Regions from separate parts of the Homo sapiens genome. Here all the other regions are linked to region 2. The links are contacts of gene promoters, found by promoter capture Hi-C in human tissues and cell types (Jung and others, 2019). All regions are on one chromosome and are shown on one strand. Each heading gives the region's core, a stretch centred on a gene start or on the middle of the fragment in contact. The rest is flanking DNA. Distances are from core to core; before and after follow the strand shown.

Region 1 (3,185 bases), core at 534-3,033, 320 kb before region 2:
TGACGGTGTCCAGCCAGGACTGGCAGTGGGCAGGACCGGTGGCACGAGCAAGGCCCCCTCCCTCCCACTGTCCGCCTCTAGAGAAGGAGCACTCCACACCGACTAACACGCCATCACCCCCTGTTGTGGGGGGGAGCAGGATTGGGGGTGGGTGTAGTGCTGGTGTGCCTTGCAGAGGTGTGTGCTTGCGTGGGGGTATGTGTGTGGGCCCATCGCAGGGTGCATGAGTTTGTGTCTTCAGGAGCCCAGGCCACCTGCCTGGCCCTTTGCAGTTCATTTCTTTCTTTTTTTTTTTTTTTTTTGGAGATGGAGTCTCACTCTGTCACCCAGGCTAGAGTGCGGTGGCATGATCTCAGCTCACTGCAGCCTCCACCTCCCAGGTTCAAGCGATTTCTCCTGCCTCAGCCTCCCAAGTAGCTGGGATTACAGGCGTGTGCCACCTGGCCTGGCTAATTTTTGTATTTTTAGAAGAGACAGGGTTTCGCCATGTTGGCCAGGCTGGTCTCCAACTCCTGACGTCAAGTGATCTGCTCGCCTCAGCCTCCTAAAGTGCTGGGATTACAGGCGTGAGCCACCGCACCCAGCCTGCAAGTCTCTTCTTGACCTGACCCGTCCTCAGCCTGGGGAATTGTGCGGTGCAGCAGTTAAGGGTGTAGAATCTGGAGCCATATTTACCACCTCATGCCTTGGTTTCCCTGTCTGTAAGTGAAGCTCATAATAGCATTTACCTAAATTTATAAAAAACATTAGAACATGCCAGGTGCGGTGGCTCTCACCTGTGCGGTGGCTCTCACCTGTAATCTCAGCGCTTTGGGAGGCCGAGGCAGAAGGATTGCTTAAGCCCGGGAGTTGGAGACTAGCCTAGGTAAAATAGTGAGACCCCGTCTCTTAAAAAAAATGAAGAGAAAAAAAGCCTGGCGTGGTGGTGGTGGGCACCTGTAGTCCCAGCTACTCGGGAGGCCAAGGCAGAAGGATCGCTTGAGCCCAGGAGTTGGAGACCAGCCTGGGTAACATGGTGAGATCCCATCTCCTAAAAAAAAAAAATGGAGGGAAAAAGCCTGGCGTGGTGGTGGCGGGCACCTGTAGTCCCAGCTACTCAGGAGGCTGAGGCAGGAGGATTGCTTGAGCCCAGGAGGTTGAGGCTGCAGTAAGCCAAGATCGTGCCACTGCACTCCAGCCTGGGTGACAGAGTGAGACCCTGTCTCAAATAATAATAATGTGCTGCCGATGCCAGGCACGTGGTCAGGGCTGCCTGTATGTATGGCAGCTGTTGTTATTCTTATTAATGGGTGTCTTTGTGGTTGTTTCTGGCCTCCTTTGTGAGGCTGTGCAGGCACAGTATGTGAATTTGGATCTGACTCCAGCTAAACATTCTTGCCCTCCCCCTAGTTCTGTAAGTCTGTAACTATTTGTAGCTGTTGGCCCTTGTATGGCTGGGAGACTGCGTGCGTGTGTGTGTGTGCGTGTGTGTGTGTGTGTGTTGGGGGGCGGGGGCTGCTTCTGAAACACACAGGAGCGCCCTCCGGTGCTGTCCCCTGCCTCTGGTGCTGAACCCGGAGGCTGGGGAGGAGGCTCGGGCTCCCTGCTCCCCCAGGCCCCTCCCCGGGCCTCCCCCCGCCTCCCGCACCGCCTTCCCTCTGCCCGCCTCCGCCTCCTCCCCCTCTCTCCGGCTCCTCCCCCTCCCTCGCTCCCTCGCCGCCTCCCCCTCCCCCGTGTCCCTCCCCTCTCCTCTTCTCCTCCCTCTATCCCCTCTCCCTCCCCTCCTCCCCGGCTCTCCCTCTCAGTCTCAGGCTTTTCTCTCTCTCAATCTCTCTCTCTCTTTCGGGCGGAGTCGCCCACCACTGCCAGCCCAGCGCTGGGGGGACCTGCTCCAGGCTGTAGCCGCAGGTAAGAGACCCCATTGGTGGGGAGGTGGGGGCGTGGGAAAAGGACGGGGTTACCCCAGGTGCGGAGTGGGGGCGGTTCGGGAAGCCTGGAGCTGGCTTCCCTGGGCTGGTTTATGGAGGTGGGGGGCTGCCTGGCCCAGCACGCGTACCTTCTGTGGGGTGGGAGTGCCACCAGCCGCCCCAACACCTTCAGTCCCTCCTGGTTCTCGGGCGGCTGGGGAGGGGGACCGCCTGGGTACTGGGGGGCGAGGACACCCCGCCCCCACCCCGTCTGGGGCACCCCCCCTCGCGCTCTCTACCTCTGCCCCCGCCTTCCTGTGTCTGGGTCTCATCTTTCTGTCTCTCCACATGTCTCAGGGGTCTCTGTCTAGCAGAGTCTGGCCGCCTCTGGGAGTCCCTGTCTCTCAGTCTCTCACTCCTGTCTCCCTCTCTCTGTGTCTCTGTGCCGGGGTCTGTTCGGAGTCTCTCTGGGGCTCTGTCTCTAAGTCCTGGGTTTCTCTCTCCTTTCCTCTTGCGCCATCTCTGTTTCTCTGTGTCTCTGTGTCTCTGCCTCTCTCCCTTGTCTCAGCTTTCCTGTGTCTCTCTCTGTCTCTGCTTTCTCTGTGTCTCTGTCTCTTCCCATGTCCGCATGTCTCTCTCTCTCTCTCTCTCTCTCCCTCCCTCCCCATCTCCCCCTCGTCTCCATCTCTGTCTCTGGATATCTCAGTCTCTGTTTCTCTCTCTCTTTCCTCTTCTCTGGCTCTCCCTGGGAGCCAGTGCACCCTCCTCCCACACACCTTTGTCTCCGCCCCTGGCAGGGGGGACCTGGAGGAATTAGACCCCCCCACCCGCAGAGTGGGCTCCCCCAGGCCTGGAGTCCTCTAAACTCCTCTCCCCACTTCAGCAGAGCTCCCCTGCTCTCTCCACTCCTCCCAGCCGGCACCCACCCCAGCTCTCCCCTGAGGACCGAGCCCACCTCCCCCTGCCTTGTTTCTGGCGTTCTGAGGCCGGTCCTTCTTGCAGTTTAACCGGTAGCCTCTGTAGTAGAGATGAGACCAGACCTCCCTTCAATCTAACCTCCCCAGTCTTCCTCGTGTAACTGGACCAGTCCTTCCTGCCGTCTCACTTCCATACCTCTTGCTGTTTGTCCAGCTCTTGATTCATTCATTCTTGTTGATAATTACTGAGCGCCTTTCCTGCTCTGGGCAAGCACTAGGTACTGAGTTAGACCGGGCCAGTCCTTCCTGCAGTCTCACTTCCATCCCTTTCCTGGTGTGCCAGCCTCACACTGTCTCAGTGGGGGGTGCTGAGAGGGCCCTG
Region 2 (3,322 bases), core at 636-3,135:
CCAGGGCTGGTGTTTTGCTGCTTTAAAAAAAAAAGTTTTCTGGTCGGGCATGGTGGCTCATGCCTGTAATCCCAGCACTTTGTGGGGCTGAGGCAGGTGGACCACGAGGTCAAGAGATAAATACCATCCTGGCCAACATGGTGGAACCCCGTCTCTACTAAAAATACAAAAATTAGCTGGGTGTGGTGGCACACACCTGTAGTCCCAGCTACTTGGGAGGCTGAGGCAGGAAAATCTCTTGAACCTGGGACGTGGAGGTTGCAGTGAGCTGAGATTGTGCCACTCCAGCCTGGACACAGCAAGACTCCATCTCAAAAAAAAAAAAAAAAAGGGTATGGGGCCGGGCATGGTGGCTCACGCCTGTAATCCCAGCACTTTGGGAGGCTGAGGCGGGTGGATCACCTGAGGTCAGGAGTTCGAGACCAGCCTGGCCAACATGGTGAAACCCCGTCTCTACTAAAAATACAAAAAAAAATTAGCCAGGGGTGCTACTTGGGAGGATGAGGCAGGAGAATTGCTTGAACCCAGGAGGTGGAGGCTGTAGTGAGCCGAGATCATGCCATTGCACTCCAGCCTGAGCGACAAGAAAAAATTCCATCTCACACACACAAAAAAAAAAGTTTGGGACAGAGCCTACAAAAGTTTGCATTTCTCATTGTCTTGAAAAATCCCATCTGGAATCACTGGGCCCACATTCCCTCACAGCAACAGCTGGCTGACACTAAGCTGTGGCAGCCTCCCTTTAGATGGGACAAGCACCCGCCCCACCCCTTCAAGAAGTGCTTGCTCTTATCCTTTTCAATCGTCATTGCCTGACCCCTCCAAGGCCCCAGGGTTTCTGACCTCTGCCCCCACGTTACACATACCTTTTTGACCATCGTTGTCTCAGAAGAATCAAGTTTTGCTCTCTTGGTGTCGGGCCCATCTTCTACTCCTTGGCTAACTTTGGCAACTTTAGTTTTCTCCCTAGAGGGTGACAAGGGGAGAGAATGTAATTTTACCCTAGGAATCATGTTATTGGAATCAAAAAAAGCCTCTCCAGGTCACAGATCGGGATGGTGGTTAAGGGCAAAAGCTTTGGAGTCAGATCTCGGTTCAAATCGAGCTCTGCCATTGATAACATGATGAGTCTGGTACACTGTTGGGCACTCAGGAAATTATTGTGGGAAAAACAGAGCAGCGTAAGTTGCTCAGCACACTGCTGGGCACACAGCTGCTCTCAATAAATCAAAGTGATTACTTTGTAAACACTCTACTTGAATCATGAAATAAATAGCCAAACTTGGCTGGGTGCAGTGGCTCACGCCTGTAATCCCAGCACTGTGGGAGGCCAAGGCGGGCGTGTCACCTGAGGTCAAGGGTTTGAGACCATCCTGGCCAACATAGCAAAACCCCGTCTCTACTAAAAATACAAAAAACTAGCCGGGCGTGGTGGTGGGCGCCTGTAATCCCAGCTACTTGGGAGGCTGAGGCAGGAGAATTGGTTGACCCCAGGAGGAGGAGGTTGCAATGAGCTGAGATCACGCCACTGTACTCCAGCCTGGGCAACTGAGTGAAAGTCTGTCTCAGAAAAAAAAAAAAAAAAAAAAAAAAAAAAAAGCCAAACTTAATTCTGCCCCTCTGCTGTGGGCAGCTTATGTTAAAATAATCTGGATTGCTTCCCACTACTATAACTTCTTTATAATATACCCAAAGAAGCCAGGCATGGTGGCTGTAATCCTAGTACTTTGTGAAGCTGAGGTGGGTGGACCACCTGAGGTCAGGAGTTCAAGACCAGCATAGCCAACATAGTGAAACCCCGTCTCTGCTAAAAATACAAAAATTTGCCGGGCATGGTGGCGGGTGCCTGCAGTCCCAGCTACTCAGGAAGCTGAAGCAGGAGAACCACTTGAATCCAGGAGGTGGAGGTTGCAGTGAGCCAAGATCGTGCCATGGCACTCCAGCCTGGGTGACAAAAGCAAAACTCCGTCTCAAAAATAATAATAATAGCCGGGTGCGGTGGCTCACGCCTGTGTAATCCCAGCACTTTGGGAGGCCGAGGTGGGTGGATCACCTGAGGTCCGGAGTTCAAGACCAGCCTGACCAACATGGAAAAACCCTGTCTCTACTAAAAATACAAAATTAGCCAGGCATGGTGACGCATGCCTGTAATCTCAGCTACTCCGGAGGCTGAGGCAGGAGAATGGCTTGAACCCAGGAGGCAGAGATTGTTCTGAACTGAGATGGTGCCATTGCACTCCAGCCTGGGCAACAACAGCAAAACTCCGTCTCAAAAAATAAAATAATAATAATAATAATATGCCCAAAGAACTAGATTATCCTAAAGCCATAAAACACTAGAGTTAGGAGATGTCTGGAACATGACTGTCCTTCCCCCATCTTGATTTTACAGGCAAGAAACTTGGAGACCAGAGAAATTTCAGTGACTTGCCTGAGAGGCTGAACAAGAGAAGAGTTCTCAGTCTCTTGGTAGGAAGCTCCTATCTCACAGAGCCTGTCTTTCCCTCTCAATTAGCAAGTTGGAGGGTTTTGGAGGGGGTGGTCAGAAACTGCAGCCAAAATACCTAACTCATATAGTTTTACAATAATGTATCATCTGCCATCTTTCACCTAGAGACTACAAAGTCAAAACACGGCAAGTCCTGTCATGTAAGAATTACCAAGTTCTGCAGCCTCAGTGTTCAAAATGAGAGGATGAGGTCTGTTTGTTCTACCAGAGGAGTCTCTCTGGATATTGGACACCTTTTCCAAGGTAGACTTTGGTTGAATATGCCTCCAGAATCGCCCAACTATTTTGTAATCATTTTACTATCTCTCAACTTGAAAACATGTCAGCAGACCAGGCGCAGTGGATCATGCCTATAATCCCAGCACTTTGGGAGGCCAAGGTGGGAGGATCACTTGAGCCCAGGAGTTCAAGACCAGCTTGAACAACATAGCATAGATCCTGTCTCTACACATAAATAAATACATAATTTAAAAAAAAAAAGTATAAAAAGGAGAAAATGTTATGTTCTCCCCTCCTCTCCCAACACTTACTCTACAAACTCATGCTCTCCTAGATTGGCAAATGTGTATCCATGGTAGCCAAAAACATCTCCTGTAAAGAACTTGATGCTATTTTTGTGACAGATCTGGTCAACTTTAACTATGACATCCCTGGAGCAGCAAGTCAGACACACCTGCAGAAAGAAAGAAATTGGCTGGGTTTGAGTTTTGCAAACTGTGAATCACTGCCCTGATGTCTAAATAAATCTTAATGAACAGTCTCTCTGGGCATGCTCAAAGCATGTTTCAAACTGGTACAACAGGTTCTTTGGGC
Region 3 (3,255 bases), core at 62-2,561, 410 kb after region 2:
GGTTCCTAGGGTCACTCGAAGGGGGCTGCTCTATTATCATAGTAACCAGGCCTTGAACTTGCCTGTTTCTCACCTTCCGGAGGAAGGTCCAGGCCCTGTAACCATAGCAACTGCCCCTCAGCAGAGCATCTCCTCTAAATAAAAACACCTGGTTAGTTTGGTGCATGGGCCTCCCACGATGGGAAGGGGAAGACGGTTACCATGGTAATGCCAACTAGGTGGCTATGGGGGAGGGGCTGGGGAAGAGGTGCTTCTCTTAGAGATCAGTGTCCTTGGGGCTGGGGTCCTTTCTACCTGAATGCTAGGTGGGGGGGAGGTTGCCATAGTAATCAATGAGGATAGGAGCAGAAGGACCACCACGGACACTTAGGTTACCTTAGCAACCTTCTCCTGGTGCAGAGTCCTAAGAGGTTTGGGGCTCCATAACCACAAAGGTGGAAGCGAGGGGAAGGCTGCTCCCCACCACCTCGCCCCCACCGCTGGGGAAGGGTTACCATGACAACCAACCTGGCCGGCAATCAGAGAGGATGGGGCCACTGCTGGTCGCCCTTTCTCTCAGAGTAAAAGTAATTGTCCAGGAGAGTGGTGTTTGGGTGTGGAAGGGGTAAGGCTCTTTCTCTGGGGCGAAGTGGGAGGAGGGGGGCAGAAAGCGGCCCCTTCCTCAGTCTCACTCCAGCGAGGGGGACCGTCGCGCGGGGCCTGGGTCTCCCTCGCCCTCCTCGGGGCGCGATCTCCCACCCGCCGGCCCCCGCGCGGGCACGCTACCCTTCGGTGTAGACCCGGGTGGGCGAGGCTCGCGCTCGCCGCCGGCCCCCCTTCCTACTGTCCCCCGCCGGGCGCGCGCGCGGTGGTTGCGGCGGGGGAGGGGGGGGGGTGTTGGCGCGGCCGCGCAGGCGCGCGAGGCACAGCGGGCGCGCAGGCCGGCCCCGGGGCCTCCATGATGGAGGAGCGAGCGGCCGCCGCGGTCGCCGCCGCCGCCTCCTCCTGCCGTCCGCTCGGCTCAGGCGCGGGCCCTGGCCCCACTGGGGCGGCCCCGGTCTCCGCCCCTGCCCCCGGGCCGGGCCCGGCAGGTAAGGGAGGCGGCGGCGGAGGCAGCCCCGGGCCCACGGCGGGCCCGGAGCCCCTGAGCCTGCCGGGGATCCTGCACTTTATCCAGCACGAGTGGGCGCGCTTCGAAGCCGAGAAAGCCCGCTGGGAGGCCGAGCGCGCCGAGTTACAGGTGAGCGCTGTCCCGGGACCCCCGACCCCCAACCCGGCCCGGCCCGGCCCGGCCTCACCCGCTGCCGCCGCCGCCGCCATCTTGGAGCAATGGCCGCCGGGACGGCCGGCGGGGGGGCGGGAGGGGACCGCGACGGTCCCGGAGGGCGAGTGAGGGGCCGTCCGAGGGGTGTCCTGAGGGCACTCCGGGGTGGGACGGGACCGGGACGGCCCGAGGTGGGAGTGGAGGGACCGGGGGTGGGAGGGATCACCGGGACCGGCCGAGAGAAAGGGGCGGAGGGACCACAACCAGCTGGGAGTGGGACTGGGACTGGGACTGAGCACGCTGGCCGCGGGGCTCCTGAGAGAGGCGACTCGAGCCCTGGAGGGGAGGCTAAGAGAACTCGGGAAAGGGTGTGGAGAGGAGCTGGAGGGGTCTGGGAGACCTGAGTGGTCTCCTGTGGGAGTAAGCAGAAGCTTGCCGGGCGCCGAGGGACTCCCGACCCCGACCCCGACCATGGCCCTAGCCAGGTGCAGGTTGGAGGTGGGAGCGTCCAAGGGGGGAACTTGGGACCCGCTGGGAAAGAGCGGGTCCAGATGGGGAACCGGGAGGATTTAGGGAGAGGAAGTCGGGAACCTGGGATCGGTGTGTTTCGGGGCGACTGGACGGTGGGCACGGAAGGAGGGCTGTGTAAGGACCCGAGGGGTGGGAGGAGGGTTTCAAGGGGTCCAGGATGAAGGTGTGTGCCTTCCCCTCTGAGGAGAAACTTTGGGGATCCCGGGCATGTGTGGCTGCACAGTGCAGGGAAGGGTTCTTTGGAGTGGAAGTGTGGACAGAGCAGGGAATGTACCCTAGGAGCCTGGATGGGAGAGCTTAAGAGTGGAAGTTCCACTTTGGGGGTGTGCAGGAGTGGGCGCGATGGCACTGAGATGGCACGTGTGTTGTAGGATGTAGGTAGAGAGCCCTGAACTGGAGTGTGGGGTGTTGGGCATGTCCAGTATGGAGGTGAGGGTCCTGGGATGGTGCCAATGAGGACGAGTTAGGGGTTACCCTGGGGTGATGCTTTAGGGGGGAGAATTTTGTAGAGCCCGAAGGCAACATGAGGAGGCATCTCGGAACGGGGGTAGACTGGGGTTGGGGGGAAGGGGATATGTTTGTGGAAGTCTTGGGAAAAGACCCCGTGGTTTTTGGGGTAGCTTGGGACAGGGATGTTGAATGGAAGAGTCTGAGGAGTTGGGCTAGGGTTTGTGACCTCGTGGAGCGTCAGGTCCATTGGCAGTGACTGGAGGACCATGGAGATGTCCGGATTTGAAGGGATCAGGAATGGCCCGCTGGAAGTCTGAAGATTCTTGGACTGGGTTATTATTAGCAGAAATTGTCATTACCTGCTTGTAGCAGCCCACCTTTCCCCTTCCGATTTGCCGTTTGCTATCTAGTAGGAAGCTGGTACCCAAATAAATAGCTGATGAGAATTGTGTCGGTAGGGATGGGGTGCGGTGGCTCACGCCTGTAATCCCAACACTTGGGGAGGTTGAGGTGGGAGAATCCCTTGAGCCCAGGAGTTCGAGGCCAGCCTGGCCAACATAGCAAGACCTCATCTCTACAAAAAAGTACAAAAATTAGCCGGGTGTGGTGACATGCGCCTGTAGTCCCAGCTACTCAGGAGGCTGAGGTGGGAGGATTGCTTAAACCCCGGAGGTTGAGGCTGCGGTGAGCCATGATTGCACCACTGCACTCCAGCCTGGGCAAAAGAGTGAGATCCTGTCTCAAAAAAAAGCATTTTGTTCATAGGATGAGTAAAGACCCTCCAGTAACTCTCCCCCTGCCCTCACTTGTGGTGGCTGAGGCTTGGGGCTGGGATGGGAGCAGAATCCTTATGTAACTGCTCTCACTTCTGTCCCACTCTCTACTTCCGAAGCTCTTTCCCAGCATACATCTCATCAGATCTTCACAATGCCCTGTGATGTAGGCAGAGGCAGTGTCATTACCTCACTCAGCAATAACGGTACCAGCTGCAATTTAGTGAGCACATACCATGTCTGGGGCGCTGTATCAAG

What was found. The method cuts DNA at HindIII sites, captures the fragments that hold promoters and counts their contacts. A contact is called where the count stands out against the background at its distance.
Region 1: a contact is called between the fragment with the promoter of SLC8A2 here and a fragment that was not itself captured in region 2, in 2 of the 25 tissues and cell types used here (dorsolateral prefrontal cortex and spleen).
Region 3: the fragment with the promoter of FKRP here is called in contact with a fragment that was not itself captured in region 2 in 1 of the 25 tissues and cell types used here (hippocampus).

What each region holds. Positions count from the first base shown.
Region 1 is chr19:47,470,491-47,473,675 of GRCh38, reverse strand. SLC8A2 (solute carrier family 8 member A2) reads left to right here and starts at 1,783. Exons shown (of 10, transcript NM_015063.3): 1 at 1,783-1,887. The HindIII fragment of the contact is 16,110 bases long and covers 1-3,185 here.
Region 2 is chr19:47,152,758-47,156,079 of GRCh38, reverse strand. SAE1 (SUMO1 activating enzyme subunit 1) reads right to left here. Exons shown (of 9, transcript NM_005500.3): 4 at 3,040-3,182; 5 at 867-966. Among named protein-coding and RNA genes, the nearest start is that of SAE1, 24 kb to the right of the region's middle. The HindIII fragment of the contact is 5,176 bases long and covers 1-3,322 here.
Region 3 is chr19:46,744,113-46,747,367 of GRCh38, reverse strand. It overlaps FKRP (fukutin related protein), which reads right to left and starts at 1,311. Exons shown (of 4, transcript NM_024301.5): 1 at 1,278-1,311. It overlaps STRN4 (striatin 4), which reads left to right and starts at 918. Exons shown (of 18, transcript NM_013403.3): 1 at 918-1,219. The coding sequence starts at 938. RefSeq lists silencers at 493-542, 583-682, 723-872, 883-932, 1,143-1,372. The HindIII fragment of the contact is 7,098 bases long and covers 1-3,255 here.